2 separate regions of the Homo sapiens genome follow, and region 1 is linked to region 2. Evidence: promoter capture Hi-C in 16 types of primary human blood cells and fetal thymus (Javierre and others, 2016). All regions are on one chromosome and are shown on one strand. Each heading gives the region's core, a stretch centred on a gene start or on the middle of the fragment in contact. The rest is flanking DNA. Distances are from core to core; before and after follow the strand shown.

Region 1 (6,085 bases), core at 912-3,411, 240 kb before region 2:
TGCTGTGATTCTGGTTCATTTTGGGCTGAGTCCCCAGAGGGTGCATCCCTTTAATGGGTGTTGCCCATCAGAGCCCAGGGGCTGTGCTGAGACAGCTGATGGGGATAAAGTGGCCATGCTTAAGTACCCTTCCAGTGATCCAGGGCTCTGGCTCAGAGCCCAGGGCAGCCAGGCAAGGGCTGGCCCTTTGAGCCAAGGAGACACAGTCTGCCCCGTCTGTGGTCAAGCCCAGGGCTCACCTCCAGCCCCCAGGTCTCTGAGCTCCACCACCCACCCACTGCGGACCTGATAACCCCTCTGGGAGACCATGGGCATCTCAGGTTTCAAACCCATAGCCAAAAGGGAACTCTGCACTCTCACGTCCCATCTGCTCCCGCTATTCCTCCCTGCATCTTCCCCATGGCAGGAAGCGGCACGGAGTCCACCCAGCTGTTCAGGCCAGGAGCCCGGGAGTCATCTTCATTCATTCCATCCCGACACATTACATCATCACCGCAAGCCCCATCAGCCCCACTCCTAAGGCCAAGTCCAAGCCATCTTCTGTCACCAAGCCTCCTCCTCCAGGCCACCGCCTGCCCCCCACGGTGCTGTTCCAGAGGAATCCCCTGAAAATGCCACTGGACTGCGTCACTCCTCTGCATAGCCCTCCATTGGCTCCCTGGACATGGAGACAAAAACCCAGGCCCCTTCGTGTGGCCAAGGAGACCTCCACAGCCAAGTGCCACCCTGCTCCCTGCTCGCATCTCGCGCCCCCTCTGTGCCGGGTCACGCGAGTTCTTGGACCAGGAAGGGCCCTCCCTGACACACTGCACGTGTGCACATGCAGACACACAGGCACAGAGATGAAGGCTCAGACACACTCACACACACCCTGCACTACACACACGTCCCGAATACGCCCAGATGCCCGCACACACATGCTTGCCCATACACACTCTGACACGCACCCTGCACACACAGGCCAGACACACCTATCTCTGACTGGTCTGATTCCTCAGCCTTAGGGGGTCCATTTAATAGCCCTCCAAACCATGGCATGCTGTTTCTTTGCAGAATCACAATTTGTAATTCTTCTATCACAACTTGTTGACATGCTTAGCAAATGTCCCCCTAGCCCCGTCCTATGCTGCCTGTCCCAGGAGACATTCTTCTGTTCATTGCTGTATTCCCAGCGCCCAGCACCCAGCAGGAGCTCAATGAATATTGAAGGAAAGAAGGAATCATCCCCTAACTCCTTTTGCTTTTTTTGTAGTTGTTGTTTTGTTTTGTTTTTAAGATAGTCTCACTTTGTCGCCCAGGCTGGAGTGCAGTGGTACAATCTCGGCTCACTGAAACCTCTGCCTCCCGGGTTCAAGCGATTCTCCTGCCTCAGCCTCCAGAGAAGCTGAGATTACAGGTGTGCATCACCCTCCCTGGCTAATTTTTGTATTTTTAGTAGAGATGGGGTTTCACCATGTTGGCCAGGCTGGTCTCAAACTCCTGACCTCAGGTGATCCACCCGCCTTGGCCTCCCAAAGTGCTGGGATTACAGGCGTGACCCACTGCGCCTGGCCTCCTTTTCTGTTTTTAAATAGGGCTGCACTTGCATGCTTGCCTATGGGTCAAAATGTCCTGAGAAAACAAATAAGAAGTATGTGAATAGCCGGAAGGGGGCTGGAAGTTCAGGAGACTCATTGTTTATTCTGAAATCATTTTTAATGTCTTGATTTTTAAAAATTACAGATCAGTTGCTTATGAAATAATGCATCCTTAAAAAATTAATATTTTTAAATGAGCTACCCAAAAATGTTCTCAAACTGGTCCAGCTTCAGAACCCTTGGGAAGTATTTCTAAAATCCTTGCAGGTGGCTGGGCTCAGTAGCTCATGCCTGTAATTCCAGCACTTTGGGAGGCCAAGGCAGGAGCATTGCTTGGGGTCAGGAGGTCAAGACCAGTCTGGGTAATGTAGTGAGACCCCTCTCTCTAGGAAAAAAAAAAAAAACAGCTGGGCATGGTGGCGCACACCTGTAATCTCAGCTACCTTTGAAGGTTGAGGTAGGCGGGATGACTTGAGCCCAGGTGGCTGGGGTTGCAGCGAGCTACGATCGCGCCACCGCATTCCAGCCTGGGTAACAGAGCAAGACCCTGTTTCCAGCAACAACAACAACAACAACAAAATCCTGGCAGGAGAAGCTGGGTTGGGCTCTCAGGTGGGTACTATCAACACCTGTCTGAGTGGGATGAGGGATCGGAACACCAGCTGGGCTTGAGAAATGGGGGTCCACACAGCCCCTTCCCAGGCCTGAGGGACAGCACCTTGCTCCCATTTCCTGCGCCCCTCTGTGTTCACGACCAGCCTGTCTGTCCATGAAGGAAATAAGTTTTTCTGTGGCTGAGTGTTGTTCCCAAGGCCACACTGCTGCTGTTACATCCAAGAGTACATGGGCAGAGACTGGCTCATGATTTGACAGCTTTTTTCTAGACCCTTCCCAGGAAGGGAAGCTGGGCTGACCGGGCCAAAAATCACAGACTGCCCTCGTATCTTTTTTTTTCTTTAAGTAGAAAGTTTTAATTACATTTATAGCCCTATTCAATATAATAATCTCACAACATTTCCCTTCTCCTAAAGGATTTTTTTGTTTTGTTTTAAATCGTGTAAAACATGCAGGGTCCCCAGGCTGCTGTCACCCATCTTCATGCAGATGCTCCGGGCTTTCAAAACAGCTGTTCCTCCCCAGAGTCCCATTCCCTTCCCCAGCCCAGGCTATCTTTGCACTGCCCACTCACACAATGGCATACTTTCTCCAAGTGTCTGATCATGGCTGAGCTTTTTTTTTTTTTTTTAATAAAAATTAATTCTTTTTTTTTTTTGGTAGAGACTGGGTCTCACTTTGTTGCCCAGGCTGACCTCAAACTCCTGGCTTCAAGAGATCCTCCCACTTTGGCCTCCCAAAGTGCTGGGATTATAGGCATGAGCCACCGCACTTGAGCTCATTCTTCTTAAAAGATGGGGATTGACAGAAAACAACAACAAAAAATCAAAGGTGCTTCCAGTAGGTCATTTGCTATTTGCTCTCCACACCCCACCCATCCTTACCAGGTCCTTCCTGTTTGTGAGGTGAGGAAGAGAGGGGGAAGGGGACTATCCCTGATCCTCCGTTTTCACCTGACATAATTGAAAACTGTTTTTCTATTATCCGTTCCATCGTTGGCCTCCTGCCTTGCCTCTTTTCTTTGAACCTTCCTGATTGCGTCTCTGTGGAATCACATTGGTCCTTTGCACATCTCTCCAGGGATTTGGTTTAATTTTTACATCTTCTGAGGGTCCCAGTTGCTTTACTGATTCCTAAACAATTTCAGGTGGAGACAACATGGCATTCATGTGGTCTCATGGATGTTGTGCTAATCCATGTCTTTGCTTAATGTCTGCAGGAATGGCCAGTGAACATTCCTCTTCAAATACATCTCCTGGAATATCTGTAGCTGTTGCTAAAGCTATACACTACTATCCCTAAGTGATTCTTCATCTTCCCCACTCCCTCTCATCAACCTAAGAATGACTTATGAGGCAGAGATAACAAATATGTAGCATGTGCATGCTCACTGCCACCTCCCGTGTCCATGGTAGACATTACTAATGGATCACCAACTCCTATGCTGCAATCCAAACCATCGATGAATTTGGTCAACTGGACTTTTCATGTAAAGCCCAAATCAAATAAATTCTTATCCATCACCCATCCTCACCTGCAATAACCTTGAACCTGGCCTTTTGGCATCTCTTCCTTCCTCCTTTCCATTGATTCTCTATACACAACCTAGAGTGATTTTTTTTTTAAAGCTGTAATCTTTGAAACATAAACCAGATCCTAGCACTTCCCCAAGGAAAATCCTCCCATAGCTTCTCAATGCATTCAGAATAAGATGCCAACTCTATCCTGTGCTTGAGTTTTGCATGAGCTGGTCTTTTAGTATCTATTACCAGCCTCTCCCAACTAGTGCCTGGCACATAGTAAGTGCTCCAAAATGTTTATAGATTGAATGAGGCTCTCTTTTGCTGATCTAGAATGCAGTCTAAGAATCCTTGTCAACGCAGAGCTCCAGGAAGCTGCCAGTGAATTCTCAGGGTTAGCATGCAAAATGCAGCCTCCCTCAAAGTCTGTTCTGATACTGGGCGATTCTACCCATCTCTGACTATTTGGGAATGAAGCAGTGTGCAAAAAAATCAGTGTAGCCCCCTTGATCAGCTTATTTTCTTTCATAATATGTACAAAGTGTTTTACTCCTGTTTTTTGTTTCTGTTTCTGTTTTTTTTTTTTTTTTTTTTTTTTGAGAGAAGTTTTGCTCTTATTGCCCAGGCTGGAGTGCAGTGGCACAATCTTGGCTCACTGCAGTCTCCGTCTCCTGGATTCAAGCAATTCTCCTGCCTCAGCTTCCCAAGTAGCTGGGATTACAGGGATTACAGGCATGCGCCACCACTCCTGGCTAATTTTGTATTTTTAGTAGAGATGGGGTCTCACCATTTTGGTCAGGCTGGTCTGGAACTCCTGATCTCAAGTGATCCACCTGCCTCAGCCTCCCAAAGTGCTGGGATTACAGGCGTGAGCCACCGCACTCGGCTTTGTTTACTTTTTGTAGTGGAAAATGGTTTGCTAAGGTTGTGCTTTGGGCTCACCAGGCTGCTGAATGGGGTTCCTCAGCTTTGGGCATCTGGTGGCAGGGACCTTCAGGAGTCTTTCCCATGTTTGGACCAGTGCATCAGTGAGGCTGTCACTGCAGAGAAAGACGCTAGGGGTCAGGTGATGGACTGCTGCTTCTTTAGAGCATCACCTTCATGACTGGCTGAGTCACCAGGATGGCTGAAAAACAGGTTCTAGAAAATCAAACATTCTGGAAAGCCCTGGAGGAACCACTGGGAGACAGAGAAAATATTCCGAAATAAGGAGTTTAGAATGGGGATAGTCTCTGAGCCTGCTAACTGGTTTCCTGGGGAACAGGGATGAGGGCAGGAAGAAAAGGGGAACATCTTAGAGCAAAAGGGGAACATTCCTGGTGCTTCCATCAGGTTTCTTGGGAAGCAGGGATGAGGGCAGGAGGGAAAGGATACAGAGCAAGGGAAGAGTAATTAGTGCTATTAATTACATCTCAATCACAGCCTACGTTTCTGCCCCGGGATTAAAGAAACATTCATTTGGAACGACTATTAAAGTCTTAAACTCAATGCTTCACAAATCAGGGCGGTGGAATGAAAATTCTTTCTCTGTAGGGACCAGGAGGCAGAAAGCAAGAATTTTCTATCCAGGTTGCTGCAGTCCAGCTGGAAAAGCCAGGGCTTGTGAGCGGGTTTGCTTGTTATTATTGTTGGCTGGTTTTTATTTTTATTTTTTTTTTTTATTTTTTAAGCTGTTTCAGGCAGGGATGTGTTCCAAATGTACAATCTAATGTGCTATAAAAGTCACTAATGTGATTATACTTTTATATCATATTAGAGAAAATGAATACTAATTCAATACCAAACGCTAATTCGGTAGAACCACAAAATGCTGAGAGGTTGCAAAACACTTGCCAGGCTGAACTTTCCGGCTGGTGCCTGAGAGCGTGTGGTGGCGTTTTCAGGAGTTGGTGTGTGCGGTTTAGTGAATCGGGCAGTCAGAGCTGTCCGGGTCTGCCATTCCCTCTGCAGTGGACAGAGGCTAGGGTGGTTTCCCTGGGAACATATGGGAGAAACCTCATCACCCTGGGAGAAGCTTTCCAATGCTCAGAGGAATTTTCCCAATGAAAATTTTGCAAAATTTTGCAATTTTCATTGGGAGTGCAAGTCTGTTTGGATTTTTAAACTAAGCATGTTGTTTGATGGCATCAGCAATGGGACAAGGTGCTTGTAAATCCAAGTAAAGCTTTTCAAAGAAAGAGCACTAAGAATCATGGCCCAGGAAGTAATATTAATGGCCAACATTTGCTGAACGTTTACTATGAGACAAGCACTGTTTTAAACTCTTTTTTTCCATTCATTCATTCAACCCTCAAGACTACTGTATGAACTAGAGACCCTTTTTGTACCCATTTGACAGATGAGGAAAATGGAGGCTCAGAGAGGTGAAGTGAC
Region 2 (5,909 bases), core at 3,410-5,909:
CTGAGGCAGACGGATCACTTGAGCTCACCAGCTCAAGACTAGCCTGGCCAACATAGTGAAACCCCATCTCTTCCAGAAAAATACAAAAATTAGCCAGGCATGGTGGCGGGTGCCTATAATCCCAGGTACTCGGGAGGCTGAGGCAGGAGAATCGCTTGAACCCAGAAGGCAGAGGTTGCAGTGAGCCGAGATTGTGCCACTGCACTCCAGCCTAGGTGACAGAGTGAGACCCTGTCCCCCACGCCCCCCCCCCCAAAAAAAAAGGATGGAAGCGGAGGAGTCAGAGAGGTTGGATTCAGAGGTTGGAGTGATGTGGACCACGAACCAAGGAATGTGGGGACCTCGTGGTCCACAAGGAGTGTCGGTGCCTCATTCCCTGCTTCGTGGTCCTCATCACTCCAACCTCTGAATCCTCCGAGGTAGAAAAGGCAAAAATCGGGTTCTCCCCAGGAGGCTTCAGAAGGAACACAGTCCTATTTGTGACTACAAGATAATAAATACGTTGCCAGGTGTGGTGGCTTGAGCCTGTAATCCCAGCATCTTGGCAGGCTGAGGCAGGAGGATGGCTTGAGCTCAGGAGTTCAAGACCAGCCTGGGCAACATAATGTGACCCCGTCTCTACTAAAAAAATTGTTTTAATTAGCCGAGCGTGATGGTGCGTGACTATAGTCCCAGCTACTTGGGAGGCCAAAAGAGGAGGATCACTTGAGCCTAGGAGTTCGAAGCTGCAGTGAGCTATGATTGTGTCATTGCACTCCAGTCTGGGCAACAGGGTGAGACCCTGTCTCAAAAGAAAAAGAAGTGCTGTTTTAAGCCACCACATCGGTAATATTTTTATAGCAGCAATAAGAAACAAATACACTTGGGTTTCTGATATTCTAGAAGTTGCTATTCTGATGGATCGGCCCACTGTGCTTCTCTCTGGCTTCTGACAGCCTCAAGTGAGCAGTTATTTTTCTCTTCTATTCAGTGGGACTCAGGTCTAGCTGCTGGAAACTTATTAGCTGTAGGAATCCCACAGGTAGCAAAAAGGCAGGGGTCTCAGGTCCTGTGGGCATGTGCTTCTCAGCAAGAGGCCTCCGCCACCCAGCCTTGAGGGCAGGGCACAACAGCCCCAGCCGCCCACTCGCTCCCTCCCCAGCCCCCGCAGTCTTGAGGCTGATGCTGAAAGGAACCCCTGAAGTCTACAAAGAACCAAGTCCTCCCTGGATTCTCCAATCCCAGGGCCTTGTCCCTGGTCTTGGGGGCTCCCTGGGGCAACACAACCCATTGATGAGAGAGACTTTGGATCTCTGGCTCTCTCAACAGACCCCAAGGCCTAGTCCACACCCCACGTGCTCCACGTCCCAGCAGCCACGTGGTTCCATGCCCCATTCAGGCCGCCATTTCCCAGAATCCCTAGACACAATCTCACTTAATCCTCCCAGCAGCCTTATGGAGGTGTGTGATCTCCCTTTTCCAGGTGAGGAAACAGGCCCGAGAGGGTGAGTGCCCTATTTGACAACCCCTCTTGCTATCCAGCCAGAATGGTTCCTCTAGTACCCCTTCTGGAGGCCTGGCTGTACAGGTGTCCCTCAGGGACACACACCCCCACTCGACTCTGGGGGCCCAGCCCATCCTAATCCCCACCCCGGGGCTTCCCACCCCCCATCATACACTCTCCACATCTTCTGTGGCTGCAACAACCTTTTCACTTGGCCAGTTGGAGCTACTGACTGCTCACACAGGGTTTTAACGAAAATCTATGGTGTGCCTATTAGCTAGGGAAACATTTATTCTGGTGTTGTCAGAGAACCTTGGACAGAAAAGCTCCTCTTGATGTGTGCACTGCACATATGTGGATGCGTGTACATGCACGTGTCTGTGTGCCTCTATGCATGTGCAGACGTGTTTTTGTCTGTGCATGCATGTGCCTACACACACACATGAACACATCTTTTGTTATTAAAGATCTGTCAGAAGAGTGTCCTGGGTAACTCTAACCCATGTGGGACTGCAGAGAAGAAAAAAACCCACACCTTTTTTTGTCACAGCCATCAATGGTCCTTGGGTTTGTGTGCCCCCAAATTGAGATTATTTTTCCACCTGAGAAGGGGAGTGAGTGATAGCTACCATTTGCCAGGTCTCACCTCCTTTTACCCTCTGGAAAACCTAATAAGAAAAGTGATTTCTTTTTTTAAGCTCTGGAAAACTCCAGCCCCAGGGGGCCTTCTGTTCCTCAAAGCCTCCAAATTCTCCCTGCCTTGAGGTATGTGCTGTCCCCACTGCCTGGAGCCCCCTTTGCAGACTCTGCTTGGAGGAGCCCACCTGCGCCCCTGTCTGAGGCTGTCACCTGGCCACTGCCATGCCTCTGTCTCATCCCTGCATGAGATCCGTCACTGCCTGCAACTGTCTGGGTTGTGCATTTGTTTACTTTCTCCTTGTCCATCTTCCCCTCGCACTTACGCACCTCAAGGGAAGGGAATTTGTTGCTTTGCGCTGGGCTCGATGAAGGGGAATGAATGCTGGTTCAGCCATCAGCCCCGCACCCACACTACTGGGAGGGCAGAGGGACATTCTCCTTCTTAGAGGTGTGGCCTCTGGCACTCAGGCCTGCCACCCACGGACACTAAATAACCACAATGATTCCAAGCCCCGAGTTCTTGCTCCCTGAATCCCAAGGCTGTCTTTAAGGGCACAGGAAGATGGCCATCTTTTGTTGTTTTGGTTTAGTTTGGGGTTTTTTTGGTCTTTGTTTTTGAGATGGAGTCTTGCTCTGTCGCCCAGGCTGGAGTGCAATGGCACGATCTCGGCTCACTGCAACCTCCGCCTCCTGGGTTCAAGCAATCCTCCTGCCTTAGCCTCCCAAGTAGCTGGGAGTACAGGCATGTGCCACAACGCCCAGCTAATTTTTGTATTTTTAGTAGAGATGGGGTTCTGTCATGTTGGCCAGACTGGTCTTGAACTCCTGACCTCAGGTGATCTACCCGCCTCGGCCTCCCAAAGTGCTAGGTGTGAGCCAACATGCCCGTCCTTTTTTTTTTTTTTTTTTTTTTTGAGTCAGAGTCTCACTCTGTCGCCCAGGCTGGAGTGCAATGGCGCTATCTCGGCTCACTGCAACCTCTGCCTCTCGGCCTCAAGCGATTCTCCTGCCTCAGTCTCCTGAGTAGCTGGGACTACAGGCCCGCGCCACAACGCCTGGCTAATTTTTGTATTTTTAGTAGCGACAAGTTTCATCATGTTGGCCAAGGTCGTCTTGAACTCCTGACTCAAGTGATCCACCCGCCTCAGCCTCTCAAAGTGCTGGCATTTCAGGTATAAGCCACTGCACCCAGCAGGAAAGCTGTCTTCAGTAAAAGTATTATATAATGACACCTTGCATTCTGAGAGCAGCTGCTGTTTTCAAGGCTCTTAAAGAGCCTGGACTCTGGAGACAAAGGGGCCTCCAGAGGGGTCCACGCCTAGCTCCATCACTGTGTGACCCTGGGCAGCTCACTTCGCCTCTCTGAGCTTTTGTTTCCGCATCTGTAAAATGGGGGCATGGATGATGAGGTGGTCCCCACCCTCTAGGGTGGCTGGAAAATTATGTGTGGGAGCCATGAGCACATAGTGTCCGGCACGTGCCAGTGCTCAGTCAATGAGATTTGTCATTTCTTCAGTCAACAAATATTTATTTTTGAGCTGCTGCTGTGTGCATCATGAGCTGGGAGCTGGGGAGACAGTCAGTGGTGAGGGAAACTAAAGTGATCCCTGCCCTCTGAGCTGACGCTCCACAGATGCTGAAGAAAATGAGTCAGTGCACTGTGGGCAGTGTTCGGGACTGCCTCACGCTGTGCAGAGAAACAAAGAAGGGAGATCGGAGCGCAGGAGGTGCGTGGCTGTGTTATTTGTTTGTTTTGAGACAGGGTCTTGCTCTGTCACCCAGGCTGGAGTGCAGTGGTGTGATCGTGGCTCACCACAGCCTCAACCTCCCGGGCCCAAGTGATCCTCCTGTCCCAGCCTCCTGAATAGCTGAGACTATAGGCATGCACCACCACGCACAGCTATTTTTTTTTCTTTTGCGTAGAGACAGGCATCTCCCTATGTCACCCAGGCTGGTCGCAAACTCCTAGGCTCAAGCAATCTTCCCGCCTCGGCCTCCCGCCGTGCTGGGATTTCAGGCATGAGCCACAGTGCCAGCCTTCATGGTTATTTTAAAGATGGTGGTCGGGGAGGCTTCACTCAGGAGATGACATATGAGCAAAGATGCAGTGAAGGAGGTGAAGGAAGGAGCCGTGCGATGACTGACAGAAAGACATTCCAGGTAGAGGGCACACAGGTGCAAAGACCCTGAGGCCAGATCCAGGCTGATAAAACAGAGCATTTTAGCAGTCTCCTCTCCCTGCCATTTTTTTTCTCAAAATTGACAAGCACAAGTGTCCCCGGCCCAAGCACCGCAGAGAGCGCGCAGCATCTCTCCCCGTGACCATGACCCAGCTACTGCCTCTTTAACCTTGAATGCCTTTTTGGGGGCTCACGTGTCACCCAGTGGCGAGTGAGCCACCCTTACTTCAGAAGAACGGCATGGGGTGGGGGGGCCTTAGGTGGTGCCCGCCTCACCTATGACTGCCAAAAGCGGTCATGGGGTTATTTTTAAACATGGGGAGGAAGTATTTATTGTTCCTGGGCTGCAGAGAGCTGGGCGGAGTGTGGAATTCTTCTCGGGAGGCAGTGCTGGGTCCTTTCCACCATGGTGAGTACAAGGGCTCCAGGAGGTGATGATGCCGGGTGGGCGAGGAGAGGAAGCCACTACAAGCGAGGGACCACGGCGGAGGGGGAGGAAGGCGGCCCTCAAAGCCTCCAGCCCCTTGTGGAAAAAGCCCCATTGACTGCGCGGGCACAGAGGAACCCCAATCAATGCCCCGATAGGCCACAAATAACAGCAGCTCTCGGGGACTCACAAACACAAAATAAGAGAGTTGGCTTTTTTATGGCTTGTCTACTGACCTCTCGAGGAATCAATAACTCCCAGGACTTGCAAAATGGGATTGAATGCTTTTAAGGATCAAATTGTAATTCTTTTCTCTTGTTCAGGCAGCTGGGAAAAAGAATGTTTTTGTTTTCACCTTTTGAACTTGCAAATTTAAAACCTTTCTTTCTGTGCTGTTGGGTTAGGTGTCCCCCTCCTGAAGTGGGCAGTCCCCAAATCAGGGTCAGCACAGGAGGGAGAGTGGTTAGAGGCAGGAACTCTGGAGTCAGAATGCCCAAGTTCAACTCCCCAAGTTCAACGCCCAAGTTCAACTCCGGCTCTGCCTTCTGTGTGTGTGGCTGTGTGATCTTGGGCAAGTGACCCAACCTCTCTGAGCCTCAGTTGCCTCTCCTGTAAAATGGGGATGATAATAATAGTATCCACTTGACAGAGTGGTTATGAGAATTAAATAATACATATGTAGAGTACCGAATCATTTGCTGTTATTGAAAGTCAGAGAGAAGTGGGGTGGGGAAGAAAGGTCAACTCGCTCTTCTCTGCCCTATTGATGTGGTGCAAGGACGGAGCATTCAGAGAGGAGGTTTTGCTGCCATTTGGAGCAAGGGAAAATTGTGGGGTGTGGGGCGCAGTTGGGTTTTAACACCTTGAAGAACTGTCATTTCATCTTGGCATTCATCATGGCTTAGTGAGCCTGACTTTTTCTTTCCCTCCAATCAATTCTCCTTCTGTGCATTACTGAGCTTTTTGTGAAATGCATCAGAACAAAAGTGGCTGGATCCTGCAGGGGCGATCTGAAGGTGTGGCCTCCATCCCCAGGGACACACCTGTGGCTTCTCCTAGTTGGTGAAGGAGCCACTGCAAGATGCACAAACGCTTATGATCCACTGGTACCAGAGGGCTCTGGAGAAACTTCATGTCATGTCCTTTGCTCCCTCCAGCATCACCGTTTGGAGACCTGAGT

The links. Contacts are between HindIII fragments. The CHiCAGO score rates a contact against its expected background, and 5 or more counts as called.
Region 1: a contact is called between a fragment that was not itself captured here and the fragment with the promoter of MYL2 in region 2, in 1 of 17 cell types (M2 macrophages). The highest score is 5.0, in M2 macrophages.

Annotation. Positions count from the first base shown.
Region 1 is chr12:111,155,211-111,161,295 of GRCh38, reverse strand. The region is part of intron 1 of CUX2 (cut like homeobox 2); the gene reads right to left. Among named protein-coding and RNA genes, the nearest start is that of CUX2, 120 kb to the right of the region's middle. RefSeq lists an enhancer at 2-613. The HindIII fragment of the contact is 7,135 bases long and covers 1-5,728 here.
Region 2 is chr12:110,919,329-110,925,237 of GRCh38, reverse strand. It overlaps MYL2 (myosin light chain 2), which reads left to right and starts at 4,659. Exons shown (of 7, transcript NM_000432.4): 1 at 4,659-4,711. The coding sequence starts at 4,709. RefSeq lists an enhancer at 3,851-5,909. The HindIII fragment of the contact is 13,220 bases long and covers 1-5,909 here.